Linked DNA regions of Homo sapiens: region 1 is linked to region 2. The links are contacts of gene promoters, found by promoter capture Hi-C in human tissues and cell types (Jung and others, 2019). All regions are on one chromosome and are shown on one strand. Each heading gives the region's core, a stretch centred on a gene start or on the middle of the fragment in contact. The rest is flanking DNA. Distances are from core to core; before and after follow the strand shown. Region 1 overlaps TTBK2 (tau tubulin kinase 2). Region 2 holds the start of CDAN1 (codanin 1).

Region 1 (3,680 bases), core at 569-3,068, 140 kb after region 2:
ACTTTGGGAGGCCGAGGCGGGCGGATCATGAAGTCAGGAGTTTGAGAGCAGCCTGACCAACATCGTGAAAGCCCGTCTCTACTAAAATTATAAAAATTAGCCGGGCGTGGTGGCATGTGCCTGTAATCCCAGCTACTCAGGAGGCTGAGACAGGAGAATCGCTTGAACCTGGGAGGCAGAGGTTGCAGTGAGCCAAGATCACACCATTGCACTCCAGCCTGGGCAACAGTGTGAGACTGCCTCAAAAAAAAAAAAAAATTGATACTTATGATTCTTTATATTTTGTCCATTAAATAAAACCTAGTGTAGGTTTAAAAACTCATAAACAGTACCAAACAGATTCCTTTCTAACTAAGGACTGGTAGAGGTAGCTTCACGTTTTACCTCACAAAAAACCTTACCAAATGACAGAATAAAACATCTAGGCTGAAGTAAATGTTCTTGCTTCTTAGTCTATTTCTATTCCTATAATGCCATTTAAACATTAATACAGCATTTTTTAATTGGCCTGACAAAGCCCTAAGAAATTATCAAGGTTTATGAGGCAAAGAGACAGAGGCAGTTTAGTATGATTGGGGTACACAGATTACAAGAAGAATAGAGGTAAGGTCTGTGGAAGATTGTATTTTCCAACGATAGGCACAACAATATCATCCATTCCTGCTCTTCTTCAATGTGAAGAAAACCTTTCACACTGATGAAAACAATGTGACCTTGCTACTCCCCCACCAAGAGGTAGAGTCCATTTTCCCCTTAACTGTTTTCATCAACAGAATAGGGCAAAGTGACACTGTGCCAGCTCTGAGGATTGCCCTTAACCAGCCTGGGAGCTTCCATTTCCTGTCTCTTGAAAGCTAGCTACCATGTAAGAAATGGGACCATCTGGCCAGGCACAGTGGCTCACATCTGTAATCCCAGCACTTTGGGAGGTCGAGTCAGGTGAATCACCTGAGGTCGGGAGTTCCAGACCAGACTGGCCAACATGGCAAAACCCCGTCTCTACTAAAAATACAAAAATTAGCCAGTGTGATGGCGCGTGCCTGTAATCCCAGCTACTTGGGAGGCTGAGGCAGGAGAGTCGCTTGAACCCGGGAGGCGCAGGCTGCAGTGAGCTGAGATCACGCCTCTGCACTCCAGCCTGGGCGACAGAGCAAGACTCCGTCTCAAAAAAAAAAAAAAAAAAAAAAGAAATGGGACCATCCTGAGAAGCCACAGCCACATGGAGATGCCCTAGAAAATGAGCCACCAGGTTGGGGGTTGGGGGTTGGGGGTGAAGAGCTAAGGACCTCAAGATACCGGACAAGTGAGTGAAGAAACCATGTATAAATGGATCCTCTAACCAAAACAATCTTCCTAGTGCCACATGGTTAAGAGACAAATCACCCAGGCAAACTCTTCCCAAATTCCTACGTCACAAAACTGTAAGCAAAATAAGCCTCTAAATTTTGATGTAGTTTGTTATATAACAATAAATAACTAAAACACCATCCATAACAGTGAGCTTGTCATTTTTTTTTTAACTAAAAATGCCACTATGCCCTCCCAAATTTTGGAGATAAGTTGCTCAGATATATTAGTTCTAATTACCAGGACAAGGGAACCATGCCAATCAAGAGTTTCACTTGTCACCTTTTGATATGTCCACTGGAGAACAAACCAGCCTTAACACAGTGCTTACTATAATCCTCTCACCAAAGCAACACTCATGTCTGACTTACATAAAAGATTAGCAACTGCTGAATCTCCCTGCACTAGTCCATGATAATGACATAGTTTCCTTATATTTGGTCAAGTAAATTTTCAAAGCCTACTGACTTACCTAATCAGTAAAACACATTGTACCATACAAATAAAAAATAAAAATTCTATTTCTAAAGGGTCTTCTTTTTCCAATCTGTTCATAGATTAAGGAAACCATTAAAATAGCTTTGTGAAACCTACTAATGGAAAAAAACTTTGGTGGACTGTGTAGCAATAAAAAAATATTTAAATATATCCCAAACAAAAATAGTTCCTTTAAGAAACAAGCAGTATTAGAGAGATGGCAGATTCCAGGTCTAGGAAAAGAAAGCCATTGAAAGACGATTAGGATCCTGTCAAAAGAACTCAGAAGACAATGTGAAGTGTGTCCCCTTAGTCAAATAAGACAATTTAAACATTTATAAGGATAACTACCATTCACCGAAACACATCAAATTTGATTAAATCCATGAATTCTTAATTACACTAAAAAACAAATCTAATTGATCACTTTTGGAGAATGGCAAGAAACCAATTCATTGTTTTGAAAACTGGTAAATTAAAAAAGAGAAGCAAGTATTTATCTTGTTTTCCTAATCAAATTGTACCTCAAGATAATCAAATAATTGATGATAAAAAACTTGTCCTTATAGATACATTTCAACTAATAAATGAATTATGGAATATCACCAATCTGCAATCCCTAACTAACAGACCTAGGTAATGATCATCAATAGTGTTAACACCACAAAAAAGATAGACAGACGGACAATAAGATATTATATGCCTCCTAGTGAAGGCTCACAATAACATTTATGAAAAAAAGATGTCCCCATCTCAAAACAAATCTAAAGTCAGATCTAATCAAGCCTGTAGATACAACTACCAATTTACATGAAATACACAAGACAGAGAAATGTGTTAACCCCAAATGGAAGCAAATAGCAAAATCCAAACCATGGGAAAGTCTACAGACAAATCACCTAATTTCTTCAGTAAATAAATTGTAAGGAAAAAAAAAGAGCAATAAAGAGGAAGGAACCTAGAAATGAAAAGTAATGGCAACTAATTACAATATCCAGGTTTTATTTGGATCTTGATTCAGGCTATTCAAAATACTTTACAATCAGGAGAATGTGAAAACTAAAACTGTATTTGGTAATATTAAGAAATGATTACTTTTTTTTAGTACTACTACAGTATTTTATAACAGTAGAAAGTAGCTGAAAAATACTACATGCTAACAGACAAAATGATACACAATCTTGGGGGAGGAGTCAGCAGGGAAGAAATGATTATTTTTAAGGTATGATAATGGTATTATGATTATGTTTTTAAAAGTAAGTCCTTATTTTTTAGAGATACATACTGAAGTATACACAGAAGAAATGCTAAGGTTAAATATCGCTTCAAAATATTCTGGGAGAGAGATGAAACAAAATTAATCATACATTGATGACTATTTAACTTGAGTCATGAGAACATGGAGGTTCATTATATAAGTCTATTTTTTATGTATACTTACAATTTTCCTTAATAAAAAAAAAAAAAGAGAGAGCAGCTCATTGTACTTCCTTTTTTTTTCCCGGGTTCACGCCATTCTCCTGCCTCAACCTCCTGAGTAGCTGGGACTACAGGCGCCTGCACCACGCCCAGCTAATTTTTTTTGCTTTTTTTTTTTTTAGTAGAGATGGGGTTTCATCGTGTTAGCCAAGATGGTCTTGATCTCCTGACCTCGTGATCCGCCCGCCTCGGCCTCCCAAAGTGCTGGGATTATAGGCGAGAGCCACTGCGCCCGGCCAGCTCATTGTACTTTCAAACACTGTATTTTTTTCATCTGTTCAAAAATTTAGTACTATACGAAGCAAGAGTAAGAATTAGGGTATAAACAGAGCTTAATCATAGAAAAATAACTGTAAATAACTGCTTTAGGCATATAA
Region 2 (3,688 bases), core at 791-3,290:
AGGGAAACTCACTGAAAGTGACACTCCAAAACCTGCACTGCAAAGAAGACACAATCGTGGATGCTTTGGAACAGTGGACTTTCCAGGGAATCTAGAAGGACAGTACCAAGCTGTCAGTTAAGAACGGTCCCGTTTCTAGACCCCATGTCTCAAAAGGAGGCTTGCTCACTGACCTAGGACAGCTGGACTTAGTTCAGGGTCGCTGTCCTTGGCAGTCACCATCCTCCGGGCAGTGAGGAGCTGAAAGACGAAGAAAAGCTCCAAGAAGAGGTTTGGTACCAGGTTCTCTAGATAGATACAAAAAGAAAGCCCATGGTATGGGCACCATTTGGAGCCAAGGCTCAGTTCCAAGTGCCTTACCAATTCTCTTACCCATAAGTTCTACAAGTGTCTCCACTCCCGCTCCCTCCGCTCTCACTCACCAGCAATGCACGAGGAGTAAACAAGGGCTACAAGCTCCAGGCGCTGGCGGGAAGACACTCTGGCAGGGTCTGCAGGTTCATCTGTGAGGCTTCCTGTCCGGCTGGGGAGGGGCGACCCCAATTCTGGGGTGGGACAGGTGGGGGTAGGTGACTGCTGCAGCTGCTTAGAGCTATGGAATAAAGAAATTTCATGAGCAGTCAGCTTGGCTTCCCTGCTACGGCCACACTCAGGTCACTCCAGAGAAGATACCAACAGCCCAGGAGACAAACCCAGAGTCCCCAAGAGGGAAATCAATTTCAGGGAAAACCCCTGAAGATCCCCCACAGCGAGGAAACCGATATCCCCAGGAGCGGCCAGGCCATACCGCTCCTTCCTGAGCATCTCTCGCTCCTCTTGCAGACTTCTGCACCCTGGGGGAAGGCCAAGGCCCCAAGGGCTAGTGTCCAGGGCTGAGGGTTGGGAACTGGGGACACAGCTGATTGGGGGTGAGGTGAAGCAGGTCTTGGGCTTGGAGAGTGACCGCTCTTCGCTCACCGGAGTTGGGTTGATCCTGCGAGAAGGCTTCGTCCTGCTGAGAGTAGCCACAGGTTTTTCTCAAATTCCTATCTTCAAACATCTCCCCTCCACCACCGCAACAGCTAGACCTCTTGCCAAAAAACCCCACAAAAACCCTCACCATCACCCCCAGCCTTCTACCCATCCTGGCGCTCCACTGCGGAGCGCCGAGCTCGAATGACTGACTCCCCAGAGCCTTCGTGGTACCCATCTCCTGCATGAGAGCTGAGTCTCACCCTGTAGGGCCGGGGGGAACCGAGCCTACGGGAGGGAACTCCTCCAGGTTGCTGAGGTTTGGCGGATCAGACAGCGTGAGGCTGGGGCGGCTGGGGCTGCCAGAGCCCCTAAGCCTCCGGCCCCCGGCTCCGGGCAGGCTCTCCCCGCTGACCCCCTCCTCCAGGCCGCGGCCTCCACGCTCGCGGGCCGGCCCCGGGCCCCGCCTCCTGCCCCCGCGGCGGGCCAGAGGGGCCTCGGCAGCGGTGCTCTGGGCCTCGGTCGGAGGGAAAAGCTGGCTGCGCGCCCCGCGGCTACCCCGCGGCGGGCCTCCCGGCCTCCCTGGCAAGGCTGCCGAGGCGCCCGGGGTCTTGGCGGGGGTCGGGGGCCCCTGCGGGAGGACGCGGCTGCTCTGCTCCCTCAGGAAGTTCAACAGGAACGGTACGAATTCTTTCCGCAGGGCCCGGAGTGAGCTCAGCGCGGCCGCCTCCCCAGCGTTATCCTAGGGCAGAAGCACAGGTGGAGGGGCGAGAGGGTCAGCCGCCGGCCCGCGGGCCGTGAGCAGCCGGGGCCGTAGGGCGCGCCTCGGGTGGGCGGCCCGGGCAGCGGCGCCCAGTTGGAGTGCACTCGGCCCGGCTGGCAGCCAGGCGCCCTAGAGGAAGGGGACTGGAGGGCTGGACTCCACTGCGGGAACCGGCTTCGAGTCAGACCTGGGGGCGTGTCACCGCTGTTACCTCCGAACCCTGGGTGCTGCGCGCGATCCACCGCACGACGGCTGCGACCGACACCTCTTCTCGCAGCAGCGACTCCAAAACGGCCGCCATCCCGGTCGGGGCGCTCTGGGGCGACTGCGCAGGCGCCGGCGCGCCGCGGGCGGCCAGGGAGGGGCGGGGCCGGCGGCGGGGAACGACCGTTGGGTCGCGGGATGGGGAGGGACCCGGCTGGCGGGGCGGGGCGGAGCCGGCTGTTGCCCAGACCCACGGAGTCAAGGCCTCGCTGAGTCCTCAACCCCGGCCGAGAGGCCGGTTGTTAGGAGGTGAAATGTGGATCACAGCGCCTGGGGAGGCCCACCTTGGCTGCCCGCCCTGGAGCGACCTGAAGGGAGGGATTCGAGCTGGGAGTGGGGCTGCCGCGGGTCGGACGCCCCTCTAGGGAGACCCAGGACCCGGGAGAGAGGTAGAGGGGAGCAGAGACAGCCACCAGCTTCTATCTTCTGCTCTAAGCACATTCTTTCACGAGTTTAAGTTTCCTAGATCCAACTGGCACCACCCCAGAGAAATTATAATCTAATCTTTCATTTTGACTTTGTTCTTCTCAAAGGCCGATTTTTCAATCCCTTGGCCGAGCAGTACCCATCGGCTTTTCAGCGCTCACCATCAACTGACCATTTAGGAAAGAATTATTTCTAGGAGGTTCTTAATAATCCCCAAGCCACAACCCTTAAAGTGCCTCGGGCCACCCTGCACACAGAATTGCTTGTATGTAGCTTTATTTACTTAAGTGGGTTTACATGAGGTTAATATTTCAACTACTTTGCAGTTTAGATGTCAGTAAGCATATCATGATTAGCTTCTGGGAGCTTGAGGTTTGTATTTTTGGGTTTGGTGTTTTTTGTTTTTGTTTTGTTTTTTTTGAGACAGGGTCTTGCTCTGTTGCCCAGGCTGGAGTGCAGTGGCGTGAGCACGGCTCACTGCAGCCTTGGCCTCCTGGGCTCAAGCAATCCTCCCGACTCAGCCTCCCTAGGGCTATAGCCCAGCTAATGTTTTGGCCGGGAGAGGGCAGCAGATCCAAAGTGCTGGGATTATAGGCGTGGGCCACCACGCCCGGCCTGAGTAATTTCTTAATCTCCTTTATTTAATTTTATTTTGAGATGGAGTCTCGCTCTGTCACCCCCGGGGCTGGAATGCAGTGGGAGGCAGAGGTGGGCGGATCACGAGGTCGAGAGATGGAGACCATCCTGGCCAACATGGTGAAACCGTGTCTCTAATAAAAATACAAAAATTAACTGGGCGTGGTGGCACGCGCCTGTAGTCCTAGCTACTGGGGAGGCTGAGGCAGGAGAATCGCTTGAACCTGGGAGGCGGAGGTTGCAGTGATCCAAGATCACGCCACTGCACTCCAGCCTGGGTGACAGAGCGAGACTCCATCTCAAAAACAAAACAAAACAAAAAAACCTGAGAGAGGATTTTGAAGGTTGCTGCTCAGTGACAAATCAAGCAAGGGAATCCAAGCGGAGAAAAACAGATGGCACGAACATTCCATGTCAAACCAAACCAGGAGGGGTGAGGCAGTGCCCTTGTGAATGCCTCCTGAGAGTTGCTCTGGTTCAAAGGAAGGTTACGGGCGGAAGGATGAGGGTGGGGGTGCAGGAATCTCTCTAGTGGCAGAAGGGGTATTTCCTATGGAGAAGGAAAAAGTACCTCCAGCCAGACAGAATAATGGACTAAAAAGGAGCTTTTAATATTTTAATTTTATTACAGGAAAACATCTCCTAACT

Evidence for each region. The method cuts DNA at HindIII sites, captures the fragments that hold promoters and counts their contacts. A contact is called where the count stands out against the background at its distance.
Region 1: a contact is called between a fragment that was not itself captured here and the fragment with the promoter of CDAN1 in region 2, in 1 of the 25 tissues and cell types used here (aorta).

Annotation. Positions count from the first base shown.
Region 1 is chr15:42,874,741-42,878,420 of GRCh38, forward strand. The region is part of intron 2 of TTBK2 (tau tubulin kinase 2); the gene reads right to left. Among named protein-coding and RNA genes, the nearest start is that of TTBK2, 44 kb to the right of the region's middle. The HindIII fragment of the contact is 8,377 bases long and covers 1-3,680 here.
Region 2 is chr15:42,735,088-42,738,775 of GRCh38, forward strand. CDAN1 (codanin 1) reads right to left here and starts at 2,041. Exons shown (of 28, transcript NM_138477.4): 1 at 1,926-2,041; 2 at 1,215-1,693; 3 at 788-991; 4 at 423-592; 5 at 174-287; 6 at 13-91. The coding sequence starts at 2,015. It overlaps TTBK2 (tau tubulin kinase 2), which reads right to left. Exons shown (of 15, transcript NM_173500.4): 15 at 3,643-3,688. RefSeq lists silencers at 1,268-1,557, 1,648-1,787, 1,978-2,227. The HindIII fragment of the contact is 10,495 bases long and covers 1-3,688 here.